Linked DNA regions of Homo sapiens: region 1 is linked to region 2. The links are contacts of gene promoters, found by promoter capture Hi-C in human tissues and cell types (Jung and others, 2019). All regions are on one chromosome and are shown on one strand. The core of a region is centred on a gene start or on the middle of the fragment in contact, and the rest is flanking DNA. Distances in the headings are between cores, read along the strand shown.

Evidence for each region. The method cuts DNA at HindIII sites, captures the fragments that hold promoters and counts their contacts. A contact is called where the count stands out against the background at its distance.
Region 1: a fragment that was not itself captured here is called in contact with the fragment with the promoter of PRSS1 in region 2 in 1 of the 25 tissues and cell types used here (neural progenitor cells).

What each region holds. Positions count from the first base shown.
Region 1 is chr7:142,702,776-142,706,510 of GRCh38, forward strand. It overlaps TRB. Among named protein-coding and RNA genes, the nearest start is that of PRSS1, 45 kb to the right of the region's middle. The HindIII fragment of the contact is 6,355 bases long and covers 1-3,735 here.
Region 2 is chr7:142,746,994-142,750,842 of GRCh38, forward strand. It overlaps PRSS1 (serine protease 1), which reads left to right and starts at 2,479. Exons shown (of 5, transcript NM_002769.5): 1 at 2,479-2,531; 2 at 3,562-3,721. The coding sequence starts at 2,492. It also overlaps TRB. The HindIII fragment of the contact is 6,237 bases long and covers 1-3,849 here.

The DNA.
Region 1 (3,735 bases), core at 1,011-3,510, 44 kb before region 2:
AAGAAGATTGTAGACTCTTTCCCCTGTATTCTCCATAGCTTACACAATTCTCCCTTTCTGCAAATACCAAATTATCATGTTTATTGGTATAGTGATCTTACCATGGGCCTACAAAATCCATGTGGTCAAATGCCACGCCTTTCCATTATTCCTTCCCCAGAATCTTCTCCTATGCATGACATCCATGTTTAATGAATGATCAGACACAATTAATATGGGAACAGGGATGCTGACTTCTGTGTTTATGCCTCTATTCTCAGGGTCTGAAACAGCACCTGATATTTAACAGGTGTTCATTATGTGGCTGTTAAAAAAAAAAAATCAGCAATGTCTACAATGATTTGATCCTGGGTTTGCCTCTTCTCTCCTTCTTCCTCCAAAGTATATTTCTTAAATTTAACAACCCTTGCCTTCCTTTTCTGTCTAAGGGCTACTGGTAGGTAGGATAATGACTCCGAAAGGTGTCTATGTCCTAAACCTCAGAACCTGTAAATATGTTACCATACATAATAAAAGATAATTAAGTTTGTAGATAGTTTAGTGTGCTAATTAGCTAACCTTGAGGCAGGGAGATTATCCTGACTCATGCAGGTGGGCTCAGTATAAACACATAGGTACATAAAAGTGTATGGACTATGGTGAGAGTGATGTGACAACTTTACCTGCTGTTGCTGCTGAAGATAATGAAAGGGGCCACAAGTCAAGGAATGTGGGAGGCCTCTAGAAGCTAGAAGAGAAAAAAGAAAACATTCTCTCCTAGAGCCTCCAAAGAGCAAACTGCCAATGAGACCGACCCTGGACTTCCAACCAAAAGAACTGTAAGATAATAAGTTTGCGTTGTTTTAAGCCACTAATTTGCAGTAATAGGATACAGCAGTAAGAGAAAACTATTATAAGGCTCTATTTCCAAGCAGCTGAAAAAAGGCAGCTGATGAAAGAAGTCGTGCCGGGAAGTAGCCTAAGAGGCAAAAGTACAAAGGCAGGAGTTTGAATCAGACGATGCCACTTTTAAGGGTGGATTTTTCAGAGACATGTGAACCACAGCAACTCCATCTTAAATAGGAGCTGGGTAAAATAAGGTTGACACCTACTGGGCTGCATTCCCAGATGGTGAAGGCATTCTAAGTCACAGGATGAGATAGGAGGTCAGCACAAGATACGGGTCGTAAAGACCCTGCTGATGAAACAGGCTGTAGTAAAGACGCTGGCCAAAACCCACCGAAACCAAAATAGTCCCAAGAGTGACCTCTGGTCGTCCTCCCTGCTACACTCCCACCAGTGCTATGACACAAACGCCATGACATCAGGAAGTTACCCTGTATGTTCTAAAAAGGGGAAGCATGAATAATCCATCCCTTGTTTAGCATATAAAAGGATATAACCATAAAAATAGGCCACAAGCAGCCCTCAGGGCTACTCTATCTATAGAGAAGCTATTCTTTTATTCCTTTATTTTCCTAATAAACTTGCTTTCACTTTATGCTATGGACTCCCCCTGAATTCTTTCTTGCTTGAGATTCAAGAATCCTCTCTTGGGGTCTGGATAAGGAGCCTTTCCTGTAACAGCTTTCTGGTGATGATGAAGGGACTGTAGTGAGGAAACGCTGGAAAGAAAGGATAACTTTGGGTAAGTGTTGGGGTCCTGTAACATCTTCCTGGCAAACCCTGAAGGGATGATACTAAGAAGACCTCCCCCCAACCCAAGGAAATAGACTGCAGCACCGATTGGACAACTTTGGGTAAGTGGTGGAGTACCTACCCAGGTAAAGAATGGGATTGGGATAGAGGCTCAACTTAGGGGAGTTAGAGTCTCTCCTAAGACAGAGAGGGTTAAAGGCCCCTCTTAATAAAAGGCAAGGACACTTGAATGACCTTGGGTTAGAGGCCCGATTTAGGAGGATTAGAATCCCTTTCCAAGATTTAGGGGGTTAGTGGCCCTTCTTAGAAAGTCTGTCTTGGTAAAGTCCTTTCGGGCTAAGAACAGGTTTTGCACTACAGGATGTTAACTGCTATTCTCTTTGGATTAATCTGCCTTCAACTCCTTGCTGACAGCTGTGTGTAACAGGATTAGGCATGTACAGGATCATGGGACATGGGGAACTATTTTCTCCCTAAAACAGAAAACTTGAGAGCTGATGGGACTGCTGGAAAAGATCCTTCACAACCATCATGCGGCCACCTGAACCGTTCAGTGTCACTGCAATGGGTGGGTCTTTCTCTGGTGTCTCCGAGTGCCTCCCCTTCCCCACCCTGCCTCAGGCAGTGCTTTCTTCTTTCTCTCCTTCTCTCTGTCTCTCTCTTTTTCTCCTTGCAAACTGGTTGAATTAATGGTAAAAGTAACTGTCTCCTATAAAGTTTTGATTAATGGAAGAAAGGGTTTTTGAGGCTAGACTTAAGCTGTAGCAAATCTGATGTGCTTTGTGTGTTTTTCTGTATTATTCTGTCATAAAGAGGGGTACCTTATGATAGAACACTGGCTGAGGACACTTGTAAACTGCTTTTCAAGACAGACCAGCAAACTGGTCAGTTACAAACTTTGCTGCAGGTTCCTGAGAAAAATTGGATGAGATTTTTTTCTTGTCTTGCATGTCCTTGGGAGCTTGAAGCTGTAACCATGTGGCCATGTTTTCGCTTTTCACAATGGCATCCTGTGTTCAGGGTTCTATTCCTGCCTCAGGGGATGAGTTTTTTTATATTCCTATGTGTATGTATTTACATGTATTATGTGTATGTGATGTTTATTTCTAAAAGAGCATTGATTAATGGGTTTAATGAGAGCTTAAATCAAATATTTTGTCAGAAAAGTAAAAAGTGTAGTGCCTTTTAGTTCACGTGACTTTAATTTTCCAGAAATAAGGACAGTTTTGAAGATTATTGATAAAATAAAAATATCTTCAAAAATGTAAACATTTGGCTTAAATTAGGCAGGACACATATTAAGACTGCTAAATGCTTGAAGGTCATAAACTGCTTCTTTAACTTTTGAAAAATTTTCAATTAACCTACCTTGAAGCCATTAGATTCTAGATAAGACCTGGGGACATGTGGAGTTAGCCACGCCCCCTAGCTATGCTGGAGTCAGCCTTTATCTGCACTTCTGCCTGGTGTGTCCAAGGCTAGGCTCCACACCTAGTACATAATTAAAATCCTGAATTTAGCAACTTTTGGTGAAAAACCTTGGTAAGAGTCAACATTATAACATGTAATTGATACTACTGAAGAAACAGTTTTATATGCAAATTGTGTAAAGAAAGTGAAATGCATTTTTCATTAAAATTATATATATATATATATAAAGTCATGGGAATTTAGATTTTTGCCTAGATTAAAGCATTAAAGGATCGTTTCAAGTTAGGATGAAGCTGACTGTTCAAGAAAGCTGTGGAAGGCTTATGAAAAAAATAACCATAAAAGAGATTCTGTGTGCGAACATTGGCTAAAATTAAAGGGGTGTTATTCAGTTATTCTAGAAACTGAACATTGGAATAAAAGCACTATTCTACTCTTTAACAAAAACTTGTAAAGGGTTATAAAAGGTTTATAAAAACCTTACCTTATGGTCAACATGATTAAGATTGAATACATTTGTCTATAAGGTTTTACTAAGAATTGGGTTTGACATCAATAATGCATGAATACAGCAGTGACATTTGGCTTATTTAATATTACAGTCATACAAGAAGCATTATCAAATACAAAATGGCATTTGGTTTTTTTGGGCTGTATTTGTATAAA
Region 2 (3,849 bases), core at 1,229-3,728:
GACATGTCCTCCAAATTGAGCTTTGGCAGCTGGATCTGAACCTATCCTACACATCTGAGTCTACAGTATGAGGTAACAGTCTCCACCTATAGCTATCTTCTCTGCCTGTAAGGTCATTCCTTTCTGAAGAAAGCTGACCTCAGACTATTTTGCGATCATTTAAGGAAGAGCGCAAAATACTGGAGAAGGCTAGTCTTCAAGCTCTAGATACAGAAAATCCTCAAATTCTTGGGTGTTCCCTTTCAGACTGAGAGTCAGAGCCACAAGCACTGATCCAAAAATCCCCTTTTCCAAAAAAATTTTCCATCTTCTACCAAGGTTCACCTCCCTGTTTAGTGCACACTAGTATCTACAGTTGTTAGAGCAGGAGTCTCTCCTTATCCTCTAAGGCAGGTGTTCTGTGAAGACCCCATGACAAGGGACAAAATGAAACAACATGTTCAGGGACAACAAAGGAAAAGCCCATTTTATCAATGCTCCAAAACCTGGCTACCTCAGGCTTGGCAAGTTATTCGTGAGCAGAGAAGTTTGTCATCTACATGGCAGTCATGGCCTGGATGGGTCTCGAACTGTGGCATGGTAATGCTCTGAGACTAGGTGCCAGGAGAAAGATAAATTCAATCATCCATTTCTACCAGGAAGAAAAGCACCAGGAAGGAATCAGATGTACAGTTTGTCCTCTAGGGACCTCTGTCTTGATCCTCAATAAATCTCCTTTTAGATACCTCCTCTTAGATGAAATTCCCACACTTCACAATGCTCTCCATGGCTTCTGTTGGCCTTATGGTCAGCTCTGCCAAGATCTGTATTCTTGGGCAAGACAGAATCCTTCTGAATCTCAGTCTCTTGCTCTATAAATGGAAACAATTTTGCTCTGCACAAATTACAATTAGCATGTTTGTGGGAAGTTAAAGTGTGAAACTCAGCATAAATGAAAAGTAATGTACCACTGTTGCTTACATGAAAACTCTTGTAAAGTTGTCAGGCACTGTGCACCATCTAAGCATAGCAGTGTTAGGTATGGGCCCATTAGTGATTAGAGGGGGTGCGAGGCGGAGAGGGGGTCTCCAAGCAGTGGGTCTCCTGGCTGTGGGGAAGCTGGCTCAGCAGCCATACCAGGAGCTGAAACCGAAGGTACTCTGTGTGTCCTCTCAACACCATGGGCCCCACTTTGGCATTATTTCCAATTCCCTCTGGTTTCCATTTGCTTCCTCCCTCTAGCCCCCTGGCCAGGTCCGATTTCAACACCAAGTTTCTGAGCTTTTCCCATTTTGTCCACCGTCTCTAGAACATTTCTGCTTCTTTTACCTTTCAAAGAATCCAAACTTGAACTCTACTTACTCCTGCCCATCACCAGCCTGAGCTCAGAGTTGCTGAGAAGGGAAAGCACCCTCATAAGGAAGCTCCTCCTTTCCCTACATCATTAGACTTGAGCACAGACAGCATCTCCATTTCCACACTGCTCTGGCCAGGTTGTGCCTCAGTCAATTACACAACTGTGTCTTAGTAGCCTTGGTAGGGCCCAAATCAGGATATTCTCTAGGAAGATTCACTTTGTACTGAGCCAAGCATAATCTCACTGCATCGAAAATAGAAAATGATCATCTGATCATTCTGGTTCAGACTGTCAGCCCTGAGCAGGTGGGTCAGTTTGCATCACCTGAGTGCAGATTGCAAGGACAACAGTGAGGCTGCATAAAAAGAACCTATGACAGGATGCACATGAGAGAGACAAATGTCTTCACATTGAAGAAGGGGAGGAGTGCGCCATTGGTTTTCCATCCTCCAGAGGCACTGAGAAAGCTCCTACAGAAACTGTGCCCCCTCCTTCTTTGAAACACTTCCCATCCTTAAGCCTTGGTAGGAAGGAGAGAAATCTGGAAGCCCAGAATCCTATGGAATGCTGAGTCTCCCTTCTCCTTACCCCTTAGTGTTGGAATTTTCATTCCCCAAAATCTTGCATTTGACCTTCCTGCACACTGACTGGAGAGAAGCATCTTCATATTCACAGGAATGAGCCTTAGATAAGACTTTGCTCCTCTCATGTGGGCCCCAGGAAACTGAAATCCAAGCTTTTTACCAATGCTTGCCCTTCCTTAAGTACATTAAATACATTCCCAATAGGTGGAAAGATTTGTAAACAGCTAGGCCATTCTCCCTCCTTCTAACCCTCATCTCCAGGGCCTAAGAAAGCCCAGCTCTGTTATCTGGGGCTTGACTTTCCCTGTCTTCCCCATCCCAGTATCCTTGCAGGAAACAGCCGGTCTCGCTCTCTGCTCTCAGAAGGAAAGTTTCCTTATCACCTGTGAATCACAAACCCAGAGAGTGGCCAAACATAGCCAGGCTGATGCAAGACCCTGGGAAGAGGAAAGCTGCAGGTGTGTTTGTGCTGGGAGGAGTGGTGACCCTCACCTCACAGTCACCTCCTCTCTGGATCCTCGTGAGGTATAAAGACGAGTCCTCCACCACCAGTCAGGCACACTCTACCACCATGAATCCACTCCTGATCCTTACCTTTGTGGCAGCTGCTCGTGAGTATCATGCCCTGCCTCAGGCCCCAACCACCCCCCCGTTCCTGGCCGACAAATGCCCTTCCATTCTTACCACCTCTCCTCTTTTGACTGTGCTCTGATATTCCGTTTCCTCCATCTGGCATATCTCCTTCCCATCCTCCTTGGGCTCTTTTTAAGTCTCACCTGTTCACCTTCTCCTTGACTTCACTCCCACCACTGTCATTCATCCATATCCGAGTTGTGGTTGGAGAAGCTGGGAAGGGGGCCAGGTGGGGCTGTCCCACGAAATGAAGCAGCAGGCTTCAGGCTTGGCTCCAACAGCAACAGAATAGCACCACTATAGCTGCTCCTAACCTCGAATGCACCTGGGGAGGTTGAAAAATTACTCATGCCAGAGACTCAGCTCTAGAAATTCTAACTTCAATTGTCTGGGGTAGAGCTTGTGTTCTGGGCTTTTAAGCTTCCCAGGTGATTTTTAATATTTCCAGCCATGCAGCCAAGGTTAAGAATTGCTGTCCTATTGGCCAATAACAAAGTCTACCTTTGTTCTGCCAAAGTGAGCCTGGGGGCTGCCCTCAACTCTGCCCTGACTGCACAGATCTGAGCTATGGGGGAAGGTGGTCATGGCCAGGTCTATGCAGACAGGGGGTTTTCCTAGCTTGGCAAAAGAATCCTGACAATCCAGGGCCCAAATAGCCAGGGGAAGTACACAGGTGATGAATAAAAGAGAGAAGCACTCAGTGGGAGAGACAACCACATCCCAACTCCTATCCCACTGGAAGCATTGTGAGGACATTCCTTGCGACTTCAGCCTGGTGACCCCAGGAGAGCTCGGATCCTCCGCAGGGTACCTAGCTATGTGCCCTGCAGGCACAGAGACTTGGGAGCCACAGGCAGTGATGATCACCAGGGGTGGCAGAGCTCCCTCCCTTGCCTAGCCTCACTGTGCTTGTTAAGGATTTCTAATTAGCAGAAAGCAATCACAGGCTGGGAGCGCCACCCCTAACATGCTATTGACTTGCCTTCTCCCTTCCCATCTCCACTCCAGTTGCTGCCCCCTTTGATGATGATGACAAGATCGTTGGGGGCTACAACTGTGAGGAGAATTCTGTCCCCTACCAGGTGTCCCTGAATTCTGGCTACCACTTCTGTGGTGGCTCCCTCATCAACGAACAGTGGGTGGTATCAGCAGGCCACTGCTACAAGTCGTAAGTGTGGGGCCCCCGACTGCAAAGCTCCCGGCCAGTCTGCCTGGGAGAGCTTGGCTTCAGCCCAGGGAACTACTGAGGTTGGGTAAGATGGATGGGAGAGGTGGTGGAGAAGAAAACTTGTTGGC